Regions from separate parts of the Homo sapiens genome. Here region 2 is linked to region 1. The links are contacts of gene promoters, found by promoter capture Hi-C in blood cells and fetal thymus (Javierre and others, 2016). All regions are on one chromosome and are shown on one strand. Each heading gives the region's core, a stretch centred on a gene start or on the middle of the fragment in contact. The rest is flanking DNA. Distances are from core to core; before and after follow the strand shown.

What was found. Contacts are between HindIII fragments. The CHiCAGO score rates a contact against its expected background, and 5 or more counts as called.
Region 2: a fragment that was not itself captured here is called in contact with the fragment with the promoter of ACAP1 in region 1 in 8 of 17 cell types (naive CD4 T cells, total B cells, naive B cells and 5 more); the score reaches 7.1 in naive CD4 T cells.

What each region holds. Positions count from the first base shown.
Region 1 is chr17:7,333,533-7,339,021 of GRCh38, reverse strand. It overlaps ACAP1 (ArfGAP with coiled-coil, ankyrin repeat and PH domains 1), which reads right to left and starts at 2,493. Exons shown (of 22, transcript NM_014716.4): 1 at 2,235-2,493; 2 at 1,653-1,710. The coding sequence starts at 2,287. RefSeq lists enhancers at 1,527-2,288, 2,289-3,050 and a silencer at 2,422-2,631. The HindIII fragment of the contact is 9,667 bases long and covers 1-4,123 here.
Region 2 is chr17:7,208,562-7,214,050 of GRCh38, reverse strand. The region is part of intron 1 of DLG4 (discs large MAGUK scaffold protein 4); the gene reads left to right. Among named protein-coding and RNA genes, the nearest start is that of DLG4, 6.3 kb to the left of the region's middle. RefSeq lists enhancers at 1,993-2,507, 2,508-3,022. The HindIII fragment of the contact is 1,438 bases long and covers 2,464-3,901 here.

The sequences.
Region 1 (5,489 bases), core at 1,244-3,743:
ACCACACCTGGCCGAGTTTATTGTTAATTGTAATGTGACACTATTAATGTCCTGGTTTTAATAATGTACTAGTATTGTATAAGATGTCACCACTGGGGGAAGCTGGGTGATGGGTACATGAGACCTCTCCTCACTAGTCTCCTGAGTCAATAATTTACTCAAAATAAAAAATTCAGGCCAGGTGTGGTGGCTCACACCTGTAATTCCAGCACTTTGGGAGGCTGAGGTGGGAGGATTACTTGAGGCCAGGAGTTCCAGACCAGCCTAGGTAACATAGGGAGACCCCATCTCTACAAAAAATAAATTTAAATTTAAAAAAGCCAGGCGTGGTGGCATGTGCCTGTAGCACAGCTACTGGGGAGGTTGAGGAGGGAGGATCACTTGAGCCCAGTATTGAAGCATCTGGGATCACAGCTGTGGCCACTCCATCCAGTCCATTGTTTAAAATTATTATTTGTAGGCCGGGTGCGGTGGCTTAAGCCTGTAATGCCAGCACTTTGGGAGGCTGCGGCAGGTAGATCATTTGAGGTCAGGAGTTCAAGACCAGCTTAGCCAACATGGTGAGACCCTGTCTTTACTAAAAATACAAAAAGAAAAAAAATTATCCAGGTGTGGTGGTGCACACCTGTAATCCCAGCTACTTGGGAGGCTGAGGTAGGAGAATCACTTGAACCTGGGAGGTGGAGGTTCCAGTAAGCCGAGATCGCACCACTGCACTCCAGCCTGGGTGACAGAGCGAGACTCCATCTCAAATAAATAAAAATAAAAATAAAATTATTATTTGTAGAGATGAGGTCTCACCATGTTGCCCATAAAACAATGTTGCCCACTAAATTTGTGACAATTTGTTACACAGCAATAGAGAACTAATATATAGCAAGCAAATACATAATGTGTCAGAGGTAAATGTTGCAGAGAAAAGTAAAGCGAAGTAAGGGGAATGAGAGAGCATTTGAGTGTGTATTTGTGTGAACATGCTGTTTGATAGAGTGCTCAGGGGACACCTTACTGTCTTGAATTGAAACGTTTCACTGGTTTGTCTTCTAGTCAGCCTTTGGGCTCCGTGGGAGCAGAAATGATCTTGTCCTCCCTGAATGCCCAGGGCCTGGCACAATGCAGGAGCTCAAGAGCAGAACAAGGAAGTCCAAAATTAAGTCTTTTTTTTTTTGACACAGAGTCTCGCTCTGTCGCCTAGCCTGGAGTGCAGTGGTGCGATCTTGGCTCACTGCAACCTCCGCCTCCCAGGTTCAAGTGATTCCTCTGCCTCAGCCTCTTGAGTAGCTGGAGCTACAGATGGGTGCCACTAAGCCTGGATGATTTTTGCATTTTTAGTAGAGATGGGGTTTCGCCATGTTAGCCAGGCTGGTCTAGAACTCCTGACCTCAGGTGATCCATTCACCTTGGCCTCCCAAAGTGCTGGGATTACAGGCATGAGCTACCATGCCTGGCCCAAAAGTAAGTCTTGTTTTCCAAGATCCTGAGCTTCTTGTCGGTACAGAACCACCTTTTTTGCTTCTCTGCAGTCTCCAAAATATCTCCCCTACACAGTATTCAATAATCCCTGGGATGCATTCTGTGTCTCCAGCTTTCTCCCTGGCCCTACCCCTCTCAACCTAATCCACTCCTGGGTCACCTCTCCATGTCAGGGTCACCTTTTCCAGACGGGTCTCCAATTCTGACACTTCGGCTTCCACCAGCTCAATAGAGGCTCTGGGAAAGAGGGGGTCATGGGAAGAGAGCTTGGGTCCATCTGGTCTGTCTGCCTCATCAGGCGGGATGGAGTCGCAGGGCGGTGGGTACGGAGGAGAAAGCTGCAGAGTTGAGAGGCTCGCCCCCCACCCACCTACTTGTGCTCTGCCCGCTCTGCAGTCTGGGAGCTACCACAGCCCAGGCCAGAGCAGGAAGGGTAGAAGGAGGGTGGATGTGGCCAGGGCAGGAAGTTGCTAACCGCCCCAGAGCAGGTGCTGGGGGAGGGGCAGGGGTCCCACTGAGAGGCCAGAGGGAATGCCAGCTCTAGGGGTGAGGGAAACTGCAGAGGCCAGGAGGAGCATGCAGGGGCAGAGAGCATTGGAGTACCCTGCTTTCACAGCTGGGGTACCACTTTGGCCCACAGGCTCGCTCCTGCCTCTTAGAGGCCTGCTCCCTGGAAGGAGACCTGGCCTGGGGAAAGGTGTGTGTGTGCTGGGGGTGTTAGACTTTCCCCTCCTTAGCCCCCCAGACCAGTTCACACTTACCGGAAACGGGGTGAGTCCTTGAGACACTCCTCGAAATCCAGCTTGACCGTCATCTCAGCTTGCCTGCTGTGGGGCCAGCGGGCCCTGGAGGCCGGGCCCCTGGGGATGCAGGTGGAGGCACTTTCTGTCCCAGGAAGGGGAGATGAGGGGGAAGGAGGAGAGGGACCTCCGCGGGGAAGGGCCTGGGGGCACAATTCTTTCCCCAAGGGGAAAGGGGTGTCCTAGGAGGAGCTCTCACCCCACACTTCCAGGCAGTGCTGGGAGGGGCAGGGGCGGGGCCTGGGCGGAGGATGGGGGCCTGAGATCAGAGAAGCCACAGCCCCACCCTCAGAGACGATCTGCCAGCTCCTTCCTCCTGGGGCTCTAGCCTCTGTTTCTTTCTCTCTTCGTGGTTATCTTGGGGGCCTGGCAGATCTAGGTTCAAATCCTGGCTCTGTCACTTAGAGGTTATGTGCCCCTGGACGAGCTCTCTGATTCCTCAGTTTTCTCATCTGGAAGATGGGAATGATAACCCCTTCCTCCAGGGCTGTACGAAGTGAAGAAGGTGATAGCAGTAAATTCATGGTTCACTAAATTTATTTATTTATGAGACGGAGTCTCCCTCCATCGCCCAGGCTGCAGTGCAGTGGCGCGATGTCGGCTCACTACAACCTCCGCCTCCTGGGTTCAAGCAATTCTCCTGTCTCAGCCTCCCGAGTAGCTGGGACTACAGGCTCCTGCCATCATGCCCGGCTAACTTTTTGTATTTTCAGTAGGGACGGGGTTTCACCTTGTTGGTCAGACTTGTCTCGACCTCCTGACCTCAGGTGATCCACCCACCTCGGCCTCCCAAAGTGCTAGGATTACAGGCGTGAGCCACTGTGCCCAGCTGGTTCACTATATTAATTGCATCAGTCATTGTCATCCTGCTACAGCTTGGGCCTGCTCCTGTGGAGTCCAGTACCCCGGACTGCTCCCAGCTTTCTTCGTTTTGCCGTCATATTCATGGTTCCTGTGTGTGAACTCCCCTTCCTCCTCCCCTCTCCTCAACGACTGAGCAGGCCCAGCCTGAGCACCCGATTCACAGCTCCCAGACTCTTGCTCTTCTGCTCTTTATTTCTATTCATAGGGTGGTCATGAAGGGAAGGTTGCCCCCACTCCGCCCCCAACCAGCCCCATTTTCCATTGTTTGCTTTCCTTTTCTTGAGTCCATTGAAGTCCCAGGGTTTCATCTGGAGAGAAGAGTTTGAGTTCATGGCTTTCTCGTAGCAGGCATGAGATCTTGTCCATGTGACTCTGGATCCCCTAGAACCTCCCCACTCAGCTCCTCTACCTCCCTGGCCAGTGTATGCATCCCCTTGCCTCTGCCCAGGCTCAGTGTGCCAGGCTGTGCTTGTTCTGGCTTGAGGAGTTGGGGTTGCTTCCACTCTCCCTCTCTGAACTCCTTGGGCTTTGCCAGCTCAGCCCCCCAGCCACCAGCTGGACACCACTTGAGACTCACTGTCTTTGGAGGACAGAGAAATACCTGGAGTGGGGTGGTGTGGCAGAGGAGTGAAGGAGGAGGCATGGAGCCAGTGTGTGGTGCCAAGCTGGAGGGGGTCCCAACCGCCTCTGAGTCTCCCTGGTTCCTCGCCTGTCCAATGTGGACCTTGGACTTGAGGCTGTTCAGGGCCTCTCCTTCCACCTGTTGCTGATGTACTGGCCTGAAAGAATTGGAGGGCTGGGAGATGGGAGCTTGCCAAGAGACAGCCCCAGGGAGATGGTGGCCTGGTGCCCTCAACAGGCTGCAATGTTGTCATTGTTGCCATCAGGGAGCTCTCCGTGGCCTTGTGATCCCTAAAGGGGCCTCCCATGTGGTCCAGTAGGTGGACTTCAGTGCTTACGGGGTTCTCAATCACCTAGGTCAAGCTTGTGGAGCCTAGAATCAGGGATCAGGGCTCGGGTACCCATCAGGCTGTGCATTCCCAGCCCTCCTGCCCCCTAGGCTGGCCTGCCCAGGTTCTCACCATCCTGATGCTCATCTTCCACGTCCTCTACAAGCTCTGGGTGGGAGCAGGACCTCAGGTATAGTCCTTTGCCATCATATTCCTTGTGCTGCAGAGCAATCTCCTGCCCCAATATGATAGTGGCCACAGCTGGGGGGACTGATTTCTGTAGGTGGAGGAATCTGAGGAATCAATCAAATGAATCCAAGTCTTCTAGCCATCTGGTGTATCCATGCCTCCCAGGTGTCTGTTGTGGGCCCTCACCAGAGGGGAGAAGCTCAGGCCCCAGATCCTCATCTCACTGACTTCTCTTACCCTTCCCATTTTAGAAAAACTTCAGTGACCGCTCCACCTCCCCCCATGGTTGTCTCGGACTTTTGTTTATTTTTTTATTTATTTTTTGAGACAAGATCTTGCTATGTTACCCAGGCTGGAATGTGTTAGTGCCATCATCGCTCACGGCAGCCTCAAACTCCTGGGCTCAAGCTATCCTCCCACCTTAGCCTCCCCAGTAGCCTGGACTACAGGTGCACGCCACCACACCTGGCTAATTAAAAACAATTTTTTTCTTTTTCTTTTTTTGTAGAGATGAGGTCTCCCTACGTTGCCCAGGCTGGTTTTGAACTTCTGGCCTCAAGCAATCCTCCCAAAGTGCTGGGATTACAGAAGTGAGCCACTGGGCCTGGCCAACAAATCAGCCCCCAATCAGACTTTCTGTTCCTCAACAGCCAATAATCTCCGGGGACTATCCTGAGTGGGGTCCTTCCTCCAGCTGCCCTCTTTCTTCCCTGGGGTTACTTCCCAGCATTACCTCCCTGTCAGGCAGCAGAGTCTTGGGCTGATAGCCACTGAGGAAGACAGACTGTGGTAGAGAAGTGAGGAACGGGCTCTGGAATACAACCCCCTCTAGTCCCTGGAGCCCCGCCATCGCTAACCCTCGGCTTCAAGGATGTGCCTCCAGGTGACCAGGCCTGGCTCATCTTTGGCTCCTCTGGCTAGTTCTCCTGCCAAGCCTCTCTGCACAGGCCTGGGCTCTGGGTCCAGCATCACGCCTTGACTGCCACCGCTGATACTGATAATACCACCATTGTCATCCTCATCCTCTTCATTCTCCAAGGGCTGGTTTTTCTGAGCCTTGAGAAACTTCCCTTTGTCATAGTGTGCCTTGCGGCGCTTGTCAAAGTCGGTGGAGTCTGTGACCATGGTGAGAGCTTGGCTTTCCCACCGCACTCTTGCCAAAGGCTCGCTCCACCTCCCCCTTTCCATTCAATCCACAACCCTCATCTCATGT
Region 2 (5,489 bases), core at 1,933-4,432, 130 kb after region 1:
ACGGAAAATGGAGGGAAAAGGGAAATGGGGGATGGGGAAGGGTCTTTATGGGCCATGGCGCCCACTGGTGGATAAGCAGGGCCTGCAGGTTTTCTATTCTAGAAGGAAATTTGAGTCCAGCCCCTTCCGCACTGACTCCTTGGATCCTCTGGTGATCCAAGCCTTCCTACCAGATATGAAACTAGGACATTGGGGGTCATCTTGGGGGCGCATGTAACAGATGCCGATCAACGGGGTCAATCTCGCTTGGGTGAGATTCTAGGGAAGTCGTCATTTCTACCATGTATGGGCATTTTATAGAAGTCAGCCGATTTGAGGAGACCCCTCACTGGGTTTTAAGAGCTGGAAGGGTGGGCGTTCAATGGGAGAATATTTGGAAGAGAGGCTTTCAGGTTAAGTTGTTTGGGAGAAAATGGAAATCTCTGAAGAGACCTGAAGGAGGCGGTTGGGAGTGTTCTGGACGATTTGTGGGTCATTGCAGATTGCCGGCCGTATCTTTGGTGTGTATTTTTTGAGGCCTGAGTGTGGAGAAGATATATTTGGGAGCAATCTTCCGACAAAGTTGGAATTCAGAATCGTGGAGGGGATGTTCTGGGCAGACAGAAAAGGGTGTAATCTATGAACCTCAGGGGTAAAGAAAAGGAGAGGAGGTGCCGGGTGCGGTGGCTCACACCTGTAATCCCAGCACTTTGGGAGCCCGAGGCGCGCGGATCATGTGAGGTCACGAGTTCGAGACCAGCCTGGCCAACATGGCGATACCCCGTCTCTACTAAAAATACAAAAAAATTAGCCGGGCGTAGTGGCGGGCGCCTGTAATGCCAGATATCCGGGAGGTTGAGGTAGGAGAATCACTCGAACCCGGGAGCCGGATGTTGCAGTAAGCCGAGATCGCGCCATTGCACTCCAGCATGAGCAACAGAGCGAGAATCTGTCTCAAAAAAAAAAAAAAAAAAAAGAAAGAAAGAAAGAAAAGAAAAGGAAAAGGAAAATACTTTTAATTAATTAATTATTAATTTTTGAGACCGAGTCTCACTCTGTCGCCTAGGCTAGAGTGCAGTGGCACGATCTCGGCTCACTGCAATCTCTGCTGCCCAGATTCAAGCCATCCTCCTGCCTCAGCCTCCCTAGTAGCTAGGATTACAGGCGCCTGCCACCGCGCCCGGCTAATTTTTGTAGTTTTAGTAGAGATGGGGTTTCACCATCTTGGCCAGGCTGGTCTGGAACGCCTGACCTCATGATCCAACCGCCTCGGCCTCCCAAAGTGCTGGGATTACAGGTGTGAGCCACCGTGCCAGGCCAAAATTTTTTTTTTTAGAGATGGGATCTCACTATGTTGCCCAAGCTGGTGTTGGGCACCTGGCCTCCAGCGATCTTCCCGTCTACATTTCTTTTTATAAGAGTTTTGGAAAAAATTGACGAGATTGCTATTTAATTTGGAGGGTCTGCTTTAAAGTAGATTAAATATTTCCTGAAATTGGGTTCTGGTGTGGATTTGGAGACTGGCATATTAGGAAGTCATGAGTATCTTATTAGATTCGGGGGTTTGGACAGGGGATCCCCAACAAATTAGAGGACTTGTTATTTGGATGTTTATATTAGAGCAAGAGTAATATTTGCACTAATTGCAACATCCCTGTTAGTGGATTGGGAGATAGATGTGATATAGAAAGGGATGATTTAGCATATATTAATTTGGGGGGCCAACAAGGCTCTGTGGTTCCTTAAACTCTTGAAGAAACATGGGCTGCCTATCAGGTGGGGCTGGACTGCAGGGGAGAACTATGCTGGTTAGAGTAGGAGATGCCTTGGAATCTGAGGAGATGCTATCCACAGCACCAATCTTGCGGGGGTTTGGTGGGAGAGGCAGTGTAGATCCCTTGGGGGTTCTTGTGAGAGAAGTGCTGTTTGTTTCCCTGGACTCTGGGAGGCCAGTAGTGACGAGATGTCCAGTGAGGTTTTGGAATGGTTTGGGGTCTCGCGATGTTGGGGTTGGGGGATTAGATGGGATGGAATAAGGGGTCCCTGAGAACTAGAGAGATAAACTGGTAAATTTAAGTCTGTCTTTAATTGTAGAGGGGTCGGAATAGAAGTATACTGTGGAAAGTGAAGTTCACAGAGAAACAGCGTGAACCAGGGAAGTTGGTGGCTAAGAGGGTCTCCCCTCACCCCTCTCTCCCAACGTGACGCTCTTCCTTACTGCGCAGGCGCCGTCACCCCCCCCCCCCCCCCGCCGCAGCCTCCAGTTGCCGCGGCCGCCGCAGCCCCCGCCCCTCTGCCCCTCCCCCTCCCCCAACCCCCGGGACCCTTGATATCCCACCTACCCCCTTCCCTCAGTCCCCCTCCCCTTCTCCATGTCGGCTCGGAACAGATTCGCCTCCATGTGTCTCTGCGTGGTACGTGCCGCGGTATGGGCTCCGGCCCGCTCCCCCTTCCCGGACCCCCGCAAATATCAGGGTGCAAGCTTCAAGCGCTGTCGCTCTTCCTTCTGCTTGGTGCGGGGTCTCTGGGTTGCAACTTCTCGTGGACAGGCGCCGTGGGTCGCCCCTCTTATCATTCACTTTGACTCACACCCCTATGTTTTGGGGGTGCAAGCCTCAGTTCCAGGTCATTCTGTGCAACTGGGGCTCTGGTGAGGAGGGGGCCAAAGGGGAAGGAACAACAGCGACTCCGTCCGTGTCCCCCATTCCCCAGGCCTTTTACTTGTTTTAAGCCCTAATATATTGGGGGTGCAGATATGTCCCAGTAGCATCTGAGTTGTCTGGGTTAGGGCCCTGAGTCCCAGTAGGATAAAGGATGGGGGGGGTCCTCCTTTCCCGTCCTGCTTTAGTTGCCCTGTAATCCAAGACTGAGAGGTGCTGATCCCCCACCGCCCCAGCCCCCCAGTCTGCAGTTTCAGAATTACTCTCCCCCGCCCCCACCCCCACCCCTCCCGACGTTTCTCCCCGCCCCCCTACATGTACGTCGAAAATTTCCAGAGACTGAACCTAGTCCCTAACCTCTTCCAGCCACATTCTGGAAACCCTGGCACCCATTTCTTGTTCCCCATTTTCTCCATGTTGCCTCCCAATCCTGAGGAGCCTTTTCTTCAGTGCCAGACACCACCCTCCCTCCATGGGGGTGGGGCAGGGAGAGGTATTGGGGGCTCGCTGAGATAAAAGTTTACCTTCATTTCCTCCCTAGAATAAATGATGAAATGGCCCTCCTCATGTTTCCATTTTCTTTGGGTGCACGCTGACATTTCCTCCTCAGATTCAGGAATTTTCTCTCTGAGGTGGAGTGAAGATGGAGAGGCACTGGACTCAAACCCTCCCCCAGACTCCAAAACTTGGAGCTTTGGTCCTAATTTACCTTGCAGGGAATTGGAGGCCTTGTGAAGGAAGAGTGGATAGCGGAGAGCGGCTTCCACCCCTTCCCCCAGGTCTCAATTCTGGGGCTTGCCCCTCAGCTTGTGCACTGCCCAGGTAGAAGACCACCTTCTCAGGATGTGGAATGAACAGTCTCTGTTGGTTCATAGAACTCCTTTATTCAAGACAGCTCAGCCTTGGAGGAGGGCTATTTTGTGTGTTCTCCTATTTTCCTTCTCTACTTTTTGTGCCCATCGGATTGAAATCTGGAGTTCAGGATTCTCTCCAAGTCTGTGGCCCAGAGAATAGACTCAATCTTGCTGAGCCCGTTTTCCTTCTTTAAGACTCTTTAAATGTATCAGGGTGCTTCTTGATTTGAGTTGTCTCTGTGTTCTGGGTTTGAGAGTTTTCGTGCTGACAGGACCACTTCCCTTCTCCCATTCTCTTACTGTACCCTTACTCTACAGCCAAAGTTGTGTTATATTCTCAGCCTTGATTCATCATCTTTAACATTTTCAGAATCCTACTCAAGGATTGGCCATTGACCTTGATAAGCTTCCTCCCATTTGATCTCGCAGCTGCTGCCCTCTAAGTATTAGGGCACTCTCAGCCTCTCAGAAACTTTTGGGAGGGAAATTCTGCTCGCCCTCTCTCTTTTTTGTTTTGGAGATGGAGTCTCACTCTGTCGCCAGGCTAGAGTGCAGTGGCATGATCTCGGCTCACTGCAACCTCCGCTTCCCAGGTTCAAGCAATTCTCCTGCCTCAGCCTCCCATGTAGCTAGGATTACAGCCATGTGCCACCACGCCCAGCTAATTTTTGTATTTTTAGTAGAGATGGGATTTCACCATGTTGGCCAGGCTGGTCTCTGACCTCAGGTGATGTACCCACCTCGGCATTATAAGCATCAGCCACTGCTCCTGGCCTCTCTCTCTTTTTGAGACAGGGTCTTACTCTGTTGCCCAGGCTGGAGTGCGGTGGCGTGATCATGGCTCACTGCAGCCTCCACCTCTTGGGCTCAAGCAATCCTCCCACCTCAGCCTCCTTAGCAGTTGGGACTACAGGTGTGCACCACCATGCCTGGCTAATTTTTGTATTTTTTGTAGACAGGGTTTCACTGTGTTGCCCAGGCTGGTCTCCAACTCCAGCTCCTGGGCTCAAGCTGTCTGCCTGCCTCAGCCTCCCAAAGTGCTGGGATTGCCGTGCCTTCTCTTTTTACCCATGTGTACTGGGCGGTGCATTCTGTCTTCTTCAGTTCCTGAGGGATCCCTGCGTATGATACCTTCCCCTTCCTGAACCTGGAGCTTGGAGGGTCAGTCTCTGTGGAGGCCCGTTCCAGAGGAGAGGAGCAGGCGAGGGCAGAGGCGGACACGGAAGGACCCAGGCAGAAACGCTGTCTTCTTCTGCTGTCTCCATCTGCCCTTTTCCTCCTTCTCTGGCCCCCAGTTAATCTCATTTTACTGTTGTCCCTATTAAGCTAGCACAGGAGGCCCTTGGGATGGCAGCTGATTAACTGGGCAGGGAGTCAGGGGTCATGTTGGGCCTTTCACCCCAAAAGAGCAGAGGGAGACCAGAAATTCACTCTGAGGCTCAGCATGCTACCCTCCTCCCCAACCAGGGAGGCTGGCACCCATTCTTGCCCCTGTCCTGAGCCCTGCTGTCTCTGTTCTTCCCCTTCCTCCCCCAGCCCATGCCCTTATAGCATAACCGGATTAGCTGGCTGGGCTGTGGGCTGTTGCAGGGGTAGGGCCAGACTCCCGGGGCCCCTCTGTTGACTGCTTGGAAACCAGCAAGGGCAGTGAACTGGACAGGCTTAGCCTTGTCCTGTCTCGGGGGCTGATACCAAGTACCTTCTGGTGGAAGGGGTGACTTCAGTCCTTGCCTAAGGAGTGCAAGGTAAAGGAGAGCCAATCACCTGTGGGGTAGAGGCTGCAATGGGGAGACTGAGGCCATGGAGGTGGGGCGCGGGGAGGATGCCATGCAGAGTAGGAGCAGCCAGAGGGGTAGGGGAGGGGAGGCTAGAACAAGAGTGAGTCTGAGATGGTGAGAGAAGCAAGGAAGTTGGGGACTGGAGGCAGAGAATGGAGATGTGAGTGTCGGGGCTAGAGCTCTGAGAAGCTGGAGGGACTCGAAGATGAAGGTGGTGG